Regions from separate parts of the Homo sapiens genome. Here region 1 is linked to region 2. Evidence: promoter capture Hi-C in human tissues and cell types (Jung and others, 2019). All regions are on one chromosome and are shown on one strand. The core of a region is centred on a gene start or on the middle of the fragment in contact, and the rest is flanking DNA. Distances in the headings are between cores, read along the strand shown.

Evidence for each region. Contacts are between HindIII fragments. The study calls those that stand out against the background at their distance.
Region 1: a contact is called between a fragment that was not itself captured here and the fragment with the promoter of PRR18 in region 2, in 2 of the 25 tissues and cell types used here (hippocampus and neural progenitor cells).

What each region holds. Positions count from the first base shown.
Region 1 is chr6:166,367,661-166,374,504 of GRCh38, reverse strand. MPC1 (mitochondrial pyruvate carrier 1) reads left to right here. Exons shown (of 5, transcript NM_016098.4): 2 at 4,284-4,287. Among named protein-coding and RNA genes, the nearest start is that of MPC1, 12 kb to the left of the region's middle. The HindIII fragment of the contact is 7,670 bases long and covers 1,694-6,844 here.
Region 2 is chr6:166,303,040-166,310,273 of GRCh38, reverse strand. PRR18 (proline rich 18) reads left to right here and starts at 1,882. Exons shown (of 1, transcript NM_175922.4): 1 at 1,882-4,974. The coding sequence starts at 2,132. The coding sequence ends at 3,019. It overlaps LOC107986669 (a long non-coding RNA gene), which reads right to left and starts at 2,726. Exons shown (of 3, transcript XR_001744464.2): 1 at 2,551-2,726; 2 at 457-552. RefSeq lists an enhancer at 1,450-1,729 and a silencer at 1,800-2,399. The HindIII fragment of the contact is 9,550 bases long and covers 1-7,234 here.

The DNA.
Region 1 (6,844 bases), core at 4,279-6,778, 61 kb before region 2:
GGGTTTGGGGATGAGTTTTTCTGATACAAGACCAAAGACATGATCCCAGAAATAATTGATAAGCTGGACTTCATAAAAATTAAAAAGTTTTGCTCTGTGAAGGATGCTGTCAAGAGAATGAAAAGATAATATATGAGAAAATATTTGCAGAGGACATAACTGATAAAGGACTTTTCCAAAATATACAAAGAACTCTTAAAACTTAACAATAAGGCCAGGCGCGGTGGCTCACTCCTGTAATCCCAGCACTTTGGGAGGCCAAGGCAGGCAGATCGCTTGAGGTCAAGAGTTTGAGACCAGCCTGGCCAACATGGTGAAACCTCTACCTAATTCTCTACTAAAATACAGAAATTAGCCAGGTGTGGTGACGGGTGCCTATAATCCCAGCTACTTGGGAGGCTGAGGCAGGAGAATCACTTGAACCCGGGAGGCAGAGGTTGCAGTCAGCCAAGATCATGCCACTGCACTCCATCCTGGGCAACAGAGCAAGACTCCCTCTCAAAAAAAAACAAGCCAACAAAACCCACAAAAACAAAACTCAACAATAAGAAAGGAACTAAATTAAAAATGGGCCGAAGACTTAAGCAGATACCTCTCCGTGTTCAGATGGCAAATAAGCATATGAAAAGAAGCTCTGCCAGAAGATTGGACACCACTGTTCTACATCGTATGTCATCAGGGAAATGCAAATTAAAACAAGATACCACTAAACATCTATTAGAAAGGCCAAAAGGCAGAACGCTGACAAAGGCAAATGCTGATTAGGATGTGAATCAACAGGAACTCTCATTCGTTGCTGGTGGGAATGCAAAATAATACAGCCACTTTGGAAAACAGTTTGGCAGTTTCTTACACATTCTTTGGTATTTACCCCTAGGAGTTGAACCCTTAGATCCACACGAAAACCTGTATGTGGATTTTTATAGAGGTTTTATTCATAACTGCCAAAATTTGGAAGCAAACAAGATGTCCTTTGGTAGGTGAATGGCAAAATAAATTGTGGTACCTCCAGACAATGGAATATTATTCAGCACTAAAAAGTGAGCTATGAAACCATGAAAAGACATGAGGGAAACTTAAATTCATATTACTGCATGAAAGAAGCCAGTCTGAAAAGGCTGCATACTACCTGGTTCCAACTACACAACGTTCTGGAAAAGGCAAAATTATGGAGCTAGTCGAAAGATCGGTGGTTGCAAGGGTTGAGGTGGGGCACAGAGGATTTTTAGAGAGTGAAACTACTGTAAGACACTATGATGATGGACGCGTGGCATCGTATGTTCATCTAAACCCACACGATGTACAGCACTAACAGGGAACCTTAATGTAGATATGGACTTTGGGTAACAATCCTGTGTCAATGTAAGTTTCGTGATTGTGATAAATACACCATGGGCGGGGGATGTAGATAATGGGAGAGTGCGTGCATGTTTCGGGGCTGGGTGTATATGGAAGGTTTCTGTACTTTGGTTCAATTTTACTGTGAACCTAAAACTTTTCTGAAAAATTAAGTTTATTTTTTAAAAAAACAGAATACTTAATTTTTAACTGGAAATATAGTTTCTCCTCCATGAGAATTCAAAATCATAAGTGAACCCAAGAAAGTCTATGAGTTTTGTGTTTGTTTGCTTTTTTACTGAAAATAAAGGCAGCATACCAAATAAAGAGAAAATCAAGAATATTTTCTAAATGGTTTTGCATTACTGTCCCCAAATTGCAGTTTATATGTGGCTTATAAATTTATCTCCCCTTTTTTTTTTGAAACAGGTAATAATACATATTTGGAAGCATTTTTTTTTCTAATTTGGTTCTGCACAAATATGCTTTTCAGATATTTTGATTGAGTTGTTGATTCATGCATTCTAGAAAACCCTGACTTAGAATTGAGGGATGTTGAGTTGTAGTGTTTTGTATTTAACAGACATATTTAAACTGACTTTACTCTCAGATTGTTTTACAGTAATTAATGTGATTATATTCATGTAGGACTTTTGAACTGAGCAGGGTATGAAGGCAGAAGTTAATTCTCCCTTATTCTCATACATGTGTAATCTATACTAATCCTTATTCTCATACATTTGTAATTCTCCCTTATTCTCATACATTTATAATCTCCCTTATTCTCATACATTTGTAATCTGTTGTAAAATAGGGTATAATCAAGCTGTTGTATGATTTAAGGAGAGAGTCCTAAAGGAAAAACTAAGTTATGTCCAAGTTGAAACTTCACATTGTAAGTACGACATCCTTTAAAATATTTTTATAGGGAAAAAATGTGCCCTTGGTTATTCATAGTTACCTAAAGGGCCAGTGTTCAGATACTGACAAAGGTATTTGAAGGAGAGCAATGCCGTAGGTGACTGACTGTTCTAGCTAGATTATGCTGTCTCATCTGGTAAGGTTATCAATCTCTCTGCTATAAAGCATTGTGGTCAGTTTGTACTTGCTGTGAAATATAATTTGGATAATTATATTTGTATATATATGAATGATATATATTTCATAATATAACCTATCTGAAGCACATAGTAGTACCCCCTCATCTGCAGTTTCTCCTTCTATGGATTCAGTCACTCAGGGCCATTTGTGGTCCAAAAAAATATTACAGTATTGTGAAAGAGAGAGTAACCACATTCTCAAAATTTTTATATCAGTTCATTGTCATAATTATTCTATTTTATTATTAGTAATTGTTGTCAATCTCTTACTCTGCCTAATTTATAAATTAAACATTATCATAGGTATGTATGTATAGGAGAAAAACATAGTATATATAGGGTTCCGTATTATCCACGGTTTCAAGCATCCACTGGAGGTCTTAGAATGCATCCCCTGAGGATAAGGGGGACTACTGTATTATTAGCACCATCAACAATTATTTTCATGTTACAAATTATAATCTCTGTGCTCTCTAAAACAAAACAACTAGTAGAATTCTTTGGACTTGAGTCTGTTTATAAAGGATTTTATTATTTCATTTTTCCCCCTGCCGTACTGCTCAATTTTATTATTTTATTTCAATAACTCTTTCAGTAGCTCAACTTTGAGATTTTGCCCTAAGAGAAGAGCTCAGGTATATCCTGGCAAGAGAAATTGTTATTTCAGAAATAAAAGTAACTCAATATAAGTTTTTGGTGTATTTTTAAATTTAACATTCTGGAAAACAGCATTGACATTTTTACTATTCATTCATTCATTCAATAAATATTTTTTAAATTCCAGTTTAAATGCCAGGCCCTACTTTAAGTAGTCCAGTAGTAACAAAAATACATCCCTCCAGGGGTTCACATTCTGGTGCAATGTGTTAGTAAGCAGAAGGGAAAGTTTCATTGTTAATAGAATTCTGCAACAGTATGCATCTCTCCAACTTACCACTTTTAAGGAAATATTTCCTCGAAAGCTGTGCTGTCCAATTTGAGAGCCACTAGCCACAGGTGGCTACTGATCACCTGAAATGTGACTAGTTCAAGCTGAGATGTGCCGTAAGTGTAAAATACACACTAGAGTCCAAATAATTGTATGAAAAAGCATGTAAAAGGTCTAATGAATAGTTTTTATTGATTACATTTTGAAATTAAAATGTTTTTTGCATACATATGGATTAAATAAATATTAATACAAGTAATTTCTGTGGTTTCTTTTTACTTTTCTACTTTTCTTTTCCTTTTTTTTTCCAGACAGGGTCTTGCTCTGTTGCCCAGGCTGGAGTACAGTGGTGTGATCATACCTCACTGCAGACTTGAACTCCTGGGCTCAAACAATCCTCTGGAGGCACAAACCACCCATGCCCAGCTAATTTTTAAAATATATTTGTGTATAGATGGGGTCTCACTATGTTGCCCAGATTAATAGTGAATTCCTGGCCTCAAGCAATCCTCCTGCCTTAGCCTCCCAGAGTGCTGGGATTACAGGCATAAGCCACTGTCCCCGGCCTTCTTTTTAGTTTTCTTAATGTGGCTTCTAGAAGTTGTAAATTACGTACGTGGCTTGTATTTCTGCCTTGCATTATATTTCTATTGGACAGTTCTGCTCTAAGGATTGCACTTATTTTCCATAAAACTAAGATCTAATTTCATGAAGTCAAAGTTCTTATTAGAAATAATATTACTTGATCTTTTAAAAATAATAAAAGAATGTACACTGTTAACGTTGTAGTCCTGTTACTGAAATTTGAATACAGGTGTGAGGTTGCAGTAACCTAATAAGACCAAAATCATTTGATTTTTGTTTCTTTTTTTTCCATGTCTGTCCTGTCTGAACTTCGGTGACTCTTCACAAAATAGTACGGTAAGAAAATTATTTCCATCCATTTCAGGCTTTTGCAGACTTTCTGCATTAACAGAGTTAGGGGTAACAGGCTTAGCATCCTTTGCATATGAGAGCCTTTCTAGCCGCCATGGCTGGCAGGTTGTGAAGGGTGCCTACTGCACCCTGGCCTGTCCTGGGGAGCCTAGACACGAGCTCTGTGACAGCCATGCTCCTGGGGCTGCTCCCTACTCCTGTTTTTAGAAACAAGCATATAATTACTTCATTGATAACAGTCACAGTGGAGCCTAGCAACCGATGAAAGGAAATAGAGAAAGAAAAAGAGAAAGCAGGAAAAGAAGGGTGGGATGATTTTTTCCTGTAGGGTGGAGTTCATTTCCATGGCTTGATTTTCACACAGGAGATGGTGTTGTATAATTCTGTTGGAACTTTCTTTTCAGCACAATTAAGAATTATAATCAAGTAAAATGTTTTCCATTTAATCCAACATATGTTAATTTCTTTTTGAATTTTAATAAAGTTCCTTATTTTTCTCAAAATTGACTGCTGAATATCTGACAGCATAAATCAATTGTATTCTAAAAAAGGGAAGAGAGAACTAGAATATTGTACTAGATAGAAAAGATGCATTATAAACTTTCTAAGGTTAGGTATTTTAGTAAACTAGTGTTAAAATGATTTTTACCTTTCGTGTTCTTCTTAAGAAACATATTTTCAGTATAGCTCAACACTTACAGTCATAAGTGTATGTATAGTTCTTAACTTGCAGAACTGTTTCCTATAACCTAACACTCATCACACTTAAACTTTTTATTTTTTTAATTTTTTTTCTTTTTTGAGATGGAGTCTTGCTCTGTTGCCCAGGCAAGAGTGCAGTAGCACTATCTTGGCTCACTACAACCTCTGCCTCACGTGTTCAAGCGATTCTCCTGCCTCAACCTCCCTAGTAGCTGGGATTTCAGGTGCAAGCCACCACACCCAGCTAATTTGTGTATTTTTAGTAGAGACGGGGTTTCACCATGTTGGTCAGGCTGGTCTCAAACTCCTGACCTCATGATCCGCCTGCCTCAGCCTCCCAAAGTACTGGGATTACAGGTGTGAGCCACCATGCCCGGCCCATACTTAAACTTTTAATAACATCACTTAGCCAGGAATCTCCCAAGGCTACTTTAGGTTTAGATTTATTCCATTGTCCATTTCTGCTTTAGCCCCACCTATGAAAGAAGACACATTCACAACCAGTGGTAGAGAAACTGTGGTTTATATGCCCCTCTTAGAATAACTCTTCAGGCTCTGTTTATAGCCCTGGGTTCATGCATGATAAAGTAGACAGCAACACCACCATACAGTGCAGAGGAGTGGCAAGAGAGTAAACGGAAAAGGAGATGAAAATAGACCAAGTGGAGAAAGGCCTGGTCAAAAAAGGAGGAAAAGGAAGATCACTATGGAATAATAGAGAGTTGAAAAATGAAGTGACACCCAATAACAGGACGGGTAAGAAAAGAAGTAAGTAGGTAAGGGAGAGATAGATACTCTCCCTTACAAAAGTCTGGGGAATAAGGAAAAAAGAAAACTGGCCATATTGCATCTAAATGTAAGAAATTAAGGGTCATTGTTAATAGAATTCTGCAGGAGTGTACTTCTCTCCAACTTGTCATTTTCTTTTTTTTTTTTTTTTTTTCCCTGAGACGGAGTCTCGCTCTGTCACCCAGGCTGGAGTGCAGTGGTGCAATCTTGGCTCACTGCAACCTTCACCTCCCGGGTTCAAGCAGTTCTCTGCCTCAGCCTCCCAAGTAGCTGGGATTACAGTCACCTGCCACCACGCTGGCTAATTTTTATATTTTTAGTAGAGACAGGGTTTTACCATGTTGGCCAGGCTAGTCTTAAACTCCTGACCTCGTGATCCACCCGCCTCAGCCTCCGAAAGTGCTGGGATTACAGGCGTGAGCCGCTGCACCCGACCCAACTTGTCATTTTCAAAGAAATATTTCCTCCAAAGCCTTGCTGTCCAATTTGAGAGCCACTAGTCACCTCGTCTAAATGTAAGAAATTAAGTGAAAGTTGCAGTAGTGAGTATCTTAGATAACATGCAGTCTGAATGCAAGATAACTAATTAGCCAGCCCAGAATCTCAAGATTCTTTAAACCAACTGTGCCTAATTTACAGAGTTTATAACTCACATGTTAAACCCTGAAATACTTATGGTGATGGCTATGTGGGAACTTTGACCTTTTGTAGTTATCTAAATGACCTTGTGGCTTTCATGTTAAATAAACATTTTTAAATATTCTATTATGCCAAATCTAATTCCCATTTATTTTTCTTATATTTCCCTTGGTTTACCACTTTTTAGGGAATCTTTGGATTTTAACCCCTCGTCAATAGTAGAAGCAAAGTCTGAATTTAACCTAAACATTATGATAGGCAGAAGTCAAGCAAAGACTGTTTTTACTCTTTAGTGTTAGGATAACTAAAAGGGGTGTTTAGCCAACAAGATGTGGTTCCTTTCAGATTTGAAAATATTATTTCCAAATTCTAAATTAATGAAACAATTTTTCATCTTTAATGAACAAAAGCC
Region 2 (7,234 bases), core at 633-3,132:
ATCCAATCACCCTGATCTACCAAGACTTTTTCCCTCTCAGCTTTAGTGTAAAAGTTGCAATCTGGCCTTGGACTCGCACTCCTGGGGTGGAGTCTTATCTCCTCCGTCCCGTTAGAGCTGTGTGATGGCAGTTGCGTAGCTACCTCGCCTCTGTACGACCAGTGTCCCAGCAGAATGGAGACAGCAGTGGAAGTCGGGAGCATTACTATGAGGCCACCAACCCATTCTCACCCCAAAACTGTCATTCCTTCTGAAGCATCCTAAGAGTAAGGAGACAGGAAGGAGAGAAGACCCCACCAGCACCGTCACAGCTTTTGAACTGCGGGGCTCCAAACTCAGATGTCTGAGTGTCCAAGTGTTTGCTGATTTTTCTCCATAGCCTGCCTCTCCAGCTGTGCCCCCATAAATGATATTTGATACCGCCCCCCGCCCCACCCCCATCCTCTCCTGCCTCACCTTCTCTTCCAGTTCTCCACTTTCCAGGCACAGAACTGTGGGCCTCCTGCCGCCACTGACGTGCCTCTTCCCACACCCATCCAGAGATTCTAAAACCTGGAATAAAACATATTGAGGAGGAGGTTTCAGTATCTTAGGACCTCACCTGTCAAGCCGATTAACAGCCTGAGCCCACCGGCAGAGACAGGCTGGCAGGGATGGAGGGAAAGTGCCTGTGAGCTGGGAGGCTTGTTTCAGAGCTGTATTGGGGTGGCTTGGGAGGTGCTGGTAGAGATGACAGGGCCCAAACCTGTCACCCCAACCCAAGCTCTGGTGAGAAGTGTTTCCCACCACCTGCCAGGTTTCCTTGACGCTCCCATGTATCCACAGCGCAGTTCTCTGAGGCCACCAACAGTCAACAAGGGGAGGCGTTGCTGCTGCCTCGGAGACTGAGGCGGCTGGGGGAGGGCCATGCTGTCCTGCTGTGACTGTTGGCACAGGGCACATTTGTGTTTACCCACAGTTGAATGTGCTCTGGAGCTAACCTGGGGCCGTAACCATCACACACCTGGTTTCCATCAGAAAAGTGTATCTGATGGAAAGTACTTTGTGGAGATCTAAGCAGCTGATGATTATCCTTAAGTAATGCAGGGACTGCACACATGAAATGTTGACTTTTTGATCCGTCACTTTGCAATTGTTCAATTATTTATTAAACAAACATTTGAATATTGTAGGATGTCTTCATGTGTCTACGACTAGAATGTAAATTGACAGTGAAGATTTATCTCATTAATTCTGAATCTCTGCTACAGTGATAAATATATTGCTTTGCTCATAAGAATTATTAAAGGGACTTGATGTCTAATATTTGCCATGTAATCAGCATTATATAGCTGAAACTGAACTATTTTGCCTGTTCATAGATACTTAGGTTTTGAATTTGAAAGTGACTCCTCAAGGGGTGGCATGAACACTATGTAAGATTCACTGAGGGTCATTTCTCCCCTCTCAGCTCCAGCCCGCTTTTCTCTGTGAAGCAGGATGTGTCCGGGGCCGCAGAGCTGCATCTACTGGCGGTGCCTTTCCCGCCGTCTCGAAGGCACGGAGAGGCTACAGGGGATTTTCTCTGAAACGTGCAGGGCCTCCACCTGTGACTCCGGAAGGCTGCCGGCTCCCCCAGGGGAATGCTCCTGGCTTTCGACGGACTACATTAACCTCGGACCACCGGAGCGCCAGCTGGGGGAGCCCCGGGATGCCTGGCGCGCGCTCCGCCCTCCGCTGTCCTGGCACTTTGCTCCCATTCAACAGTCGGTCGTGACACCAGCCGGGCACAGCCCGGGGCCTGGCAGGGCCGCGTCCTTAGCGAGCGCGCTGGGCTCCTCCTCCTGCCGGCCCGGCCCGCGTCTCAGCTGTGGGGACCCGGGGGCGCCGCGACTCGCCCACAGTCGGACGGCGGGAGGCGGTTCCTGCAGGGTCCAGTCCCGGGAGCACCCCCAGGAGGAGGGGAGGGTGGGAGCGCCTCTCTTTGAGTCCCCGGGTTTGGTCGCTGGGATGTGAGGAAGCCGGAGAGGCCGCGGCTGGACGCAGGTGGGTGTGGAGGGGCCGCCCGGACTGCGGGGACCCGCTCCGCGCACAGTGGCTGAGCGCCCGCCTCTCTTTCCAGGGGCTGAGGATCCGGCGGCTCGGCTGCACTATGCCCTTCCCGCCCATGCCGCCGCCGCCCGCCCCCGCCCCGGGGGCCCAAGCCGCGCGCCAGTTACCCCGGAGGCCCTGCGCCGCGGGGGACAAGAAGAAGAGGCCCCCACAGCGGCCCGAGGGGCTCCTCTCCAGCTCCTGGCCCTCCGCCACGCTCAAGAGGCCGCCGGCCCGGCGCGGCCCCGGCCTGGACAGGACGCAGCCGCCGGCCCCTCCGGGCGTCTCCCCCCAGGCCTTGCCCAGCCGCGCGCGGGCCCCAGCCACGTGCGCCCCGCCCCGGCCGGCAGGCTCCGGCCACAGCCCAGCGAGGACCACCTATGCGGCGACCTCGGCGGGGACGGGGACCACCGCCGCGGGCACCTCCTCGGGGGCGGGGCCTTGTCCAGACTCCGCTGCGCGCTTCTGCCTGAATCTCACCCCCGAGGCCGTCCTGGTCATCCAGAAGCGTCATCTGGAGAAGCAGCTGCTGGCGCGGCCCCGCAGGCCCTTCCCCTCACCCTCGGCCGAACCCAGGCGCCTACTCGCCCCGTGTCTCCCGGCTAGGGCCGCGGGCCCGCGGAGGGGCGGCCCCGCCAGCGACCCCGACGCACCCCCCACCGCCGGCCAGGGCCGCCGCGCGCCTCCGCCCGGCGCCCAGCTGCTGCACGGCGGCCTGCAGGTTCCCCAGCTCAGCCCGCGGCCCGGGGCCCTGCGGCCGATGCTCAAGGTGTCGCTGCTCAACGAGCGGCACAGGTACGACGACGTGGAGTACGAGGAGGAGCCAGAGGCGGTGGACGAGGGCCTGGTACGCAAGTGCACGGAGTGGCTGCGCGGCGTGGAGTCCGCGGCTGCCGCGCGGGGCCGGGCGGGGGCCCTGGACTCACGGCGGCACCTGAGCACGCTGTGAGCCCAGCGGGCCTGCGGGGACAGGCCAGGCCTGATCCCACCTCACTTCCTGCACGCGCCACTCCGCCTAGGGGCCCTCGGGGGAGACCGCAGGCTCCTCTGGCCGCCAGCGCCCACTTTCGGGACACCAGTGCGCAAGCTGGCCCACGTGGGGCGCAGCCAGACTCGCCCGACGGCCACGGCCCCCCTCCTGCCCTCGCCAGCCGGCAGCCCGGGCCTTTCTCGTTCACACCGGTGGTATCTACCCCAGATGCCTGCCTCTGCCCCCACTCTGGCCTCCTCTTGGCATCGCCGAGCATCCATGCAGTTCGTGGGGAATTAAGCAACTGAGAAAATGCCTCTTGGTGCCCCGACCCCCAGGGTTCGTCTAGGTCCCAGAGACCCTCTGCCTGGAGGCGGGCCTTCCCCAGGGCTACATCTGCACGCCCCGTGGTGTCACCCTCAGCCGGCGCCGGGCACCCTGGACAGTGCGGTGGGCGATGGCCCAGGTGGGTGGCCGCGACGGTGGCCTCCTGCAGAGCTGGGACCCGGTCCTACATTCGTGATTTTGTTTTCTCCCAAGTCAGAAAAATGTTGAGGGTATTAGACATCCCTGAAACTCAGTTAACCGAATTTCCAGTCTCCAAAGCGGAAGGGTAGGCATCGCCAGGCGCTGGTGAGCCCTGGTCAATGAGCGCTTCCATGGAAACCGCTCGGCTGATTACATTTTTTCTGTGTATTATTTGAATAGAGAGTAAAGCTCCTCCGCTGTTTCGTAACCATATCCTTTCCCCCGCTAACTGGAGGCTGATTTCTACATATTTCTTCCATGTATCTGAGAATATCTAACTAGAAGGATGAGAAGGAAATAAAATGTTATAATCAGATAAGGCTGGTTATAAAAGAGTAATGTATTACCTCAATTTTTGACTGACTTTGTAAAAGCCAATAACTGGTTTAATGTTTATCTTGATAGACTTTAAATGTATCAAGTCTTAATTGTATTTTAAATTGAAGCCTTACATTTTTAAAACAGATTTTGTATTTTTCTTGTGGAGGTCTTTGCTCTAATAACACACACACACTGTCTCTCTCTCTCTCTCTCTCTAATTCTAGGCACACATTTAGTTAGATGTGAAGCATTTAATTCATTGGGAGCTAGGTCAGCTGCCAGATGAGTTGCAAAAACAGAAAAAAACCTACCCATTGAATAACTTCTTTGAATTTGGAGATAAGTTTTCTTTTACTTAAAATGAATATATTAATTCTAGAGGGGCAAAACTAGCAATGCTTATGCAAGTGACGGTGCTGCTCTTGTTCCACCCCCACCCAGATGGTCTCTGAGTGCGCCGTCCTGGGCAGGGCACACGGTCTGGAGCTGAGAGGGTGGAGCAAGAGTGCACTGACTCCGAGCCGAGGGCAGGAGTGGCTCAACTTGGTCTCGTCTTGCACTTAGTGCAAATACCAATAATTAAGATGCCTAGACTTCTGCCCTTGGTCACAGTAACAACAACATTTTGAAGACTTTTCCCTGGTGGCATCCTAGAGGGACCGACTTTCTGCAGCCTCTGTCTTCCAAGCTGAGCTTCTGCTGCAGTGTGGCTGTCACTGCACCTGTGTGTCTCCCTGACGTCCCTGTCAGCTGCTTCATTTTGATTTCCTTTCTTCTCCCGCCCTTTCTGTAGGCTCTGTCCCAGCATCTCCTGTTCTTAACTGGCCACAATACAACACTAAGCGCATTTTTAGTAATTTGTATTTATTAAATAGAGTTTGTGGGCCTTGTTCTCTACTTTAAAAGCAGATGAGTGGAACATTTATGTTTCCCTGGTCAATGAGCTTCAATAAAAAACAAACAGAAAAAAGGTTTTACACGTGACACATGATATCTTTTCATTGCTGTTAAGGACATTTTGAGAAAGTTTTCTAAGTCGCTATGCTCCAATTTCTTAATGCTTAAATAAAAGAGAAATTCAGTGACTTGTGATTCTTTTTGAGGGGGACACTGAAAACTGGTCAGGAAGAGACTACTGAGGGATTTACAATTCACATGACATGATTTCTTCATAGTGGCACTCAACCTAAGGTTCTGGGATTTCCAGGAGTTGAAAAAGGTTTGCTGGTTTTAATCACTACTAGAATTTTTAAAAATCACTACCAGGATTTTTAAGATAGTCAAATACTGTAAGGTTATTTGGCAATGACATTTGACCTTTTATGGGGCCACAAATCCCCGTGAAAGCTATATTCCAAAAGGACTCCTAAAACCGTGTACCACATAGCAACAAAACATTGCATATAATTTGCATATATTTTAAGAAGCTCATGGGTCCCAGGTTAAGGACTCCTCCTATATACACTCACTAGAATATTTTTTTTATTTTGCCTAAAGTAATTTCATACTGGTAGGTCATACCAATCAGAAATTAAAGGGTCAATTTGAATAATTGCTAGACTATTAGATTACTATTATATTATTATCAAATTCTCCCATAACTGTAATATCTCATAGCAGGGACTGAGGAGGACTTCCATCCCAGGAGAGAAAATTGGGTGCCACTATGTAAGTAAAAGTGTTGCCAGTTCCAAAGATTGAGCATATATGTGACTTAATTCCCTCTATTTAGAGAATAGCTGGCACTTTAAGATAGGTTTTTATGTTGATCTGCCTTATTTCTAGAAAAGTGGATGCCAAGTTGTCAGAACCATTAGTTGTGGGGTTTCCCTGGAAATCACGCGGTTCAGTTTAGGGTGGGTGATCTGTGGGATCTCTGCTTTTCAGCCAACCGTGGTATATCATTCAAAGAAAGTCTGAAAATAACAGTCTCTCTAGTAAGCAAGGACACTTTTGCATCAACAGAAATGCACACACAGGCCTTTGTGACCTCTGGGAAACCTGGATTGATGTGGTTCCCCAGCATGGCCTCTGTCCAGATGCTGCCTGGGTAAGGGCACAGCTGCTCCCATGGCCTGTAGTGGAGGCCCCTTGGTCTGGCTTGGAGTCAGAGCGCCCCTCAGCATTGTGTGGGAGAAGGTACCGCACCATGGTTCAAGGTGGGTTTTGGTGCCCTAGAGGCTGGAGTTGCCACACTGATGCTGTCATTTATCCACATCTTTCATTAAACTTCCATGTCTGTTTCCTCTTCTGTCTGTGGGGATAGTTGAACATAGGTGACCCTGGTGAGGATTATGAGGCAATATGCGAAGCGTTCCCCCAGCTCAAAGTTAACTGTAATTTTTACTATTTCAAAAAAGTCTTTACTACTCAAAAAACTCTGGCACTCTTGTGCACATTCAAAACCTCCCTAGTTACAGCATTCTGAGATTTTTATCTTTAACCATTTAATGCACACCTACACTTTTATATTCCTGAGGAATTAAAAAATTAAAATGTCTATTGTGTTTTGCCTTCTTATCTCACACTTAATTATTATGTTATGAGCACAAAATTTAGCTCTGAGCTTCCTGGTAGCAGAGACAAAGTTTAAAGTAAGAGTCATATAATCTCAATATCTAATAACAAGAAACACTTCTTGGAGAAAATTGTTATGTGTGTATTTGGATTATATACAACACAATGGATAGTAGTATCCTTAAATGCAGCTTCTCGAAGATGCCTAAGTGTTCTTGTTGTTTTTTTATTTTTTGAAACGGAGTCTCACTCTGTCACCCAGGCTGGAGTGCAGTGGCGTGATCTCGGCTCACTGCAAGCTCTGCCTCCTGGGTTCACACCATTCTCCTGCTTCAGCCTCCCCAGTAGCTGGGACTACAGGTGTCAGCCACCATGCCCGGCTAATTTTTTTGTATTTTCAGTAGAGACAGAGTTTCACTGTGTTAGCCAGGATGGTCTCGATCTCCTGACCTCGTGATCCACCCTCCTCGGCCTCCCAAAGTGCTGGGATTACAGGCATGAGCCACTGCGCCCGGCCAAAGATGCCTAAATGTTCTTTACATTACTATTAGCTCTTGATGAAAGCCAGTGGGGTCATTATCAGCGACATCCTTGCTGGAACTGGACCATCCCACCTTATGGAGGTGGTGTGGATGGAAACCTACAAAATACAGTAGGGAATCTTCAGGAAGCAGTTTTAGATCTGCTCAAATATTTAGCAAGTACTGCCCTAGTACCTCAGACAATTCGACATCAGTCCTTAAATGTTTGGTCTCGTGACCTCTTTCTAGTCTCAAAAATTATTGAAGGGAAAAAAAGTATTGAGGGAAGCCAAAGAACCTTCTTCAG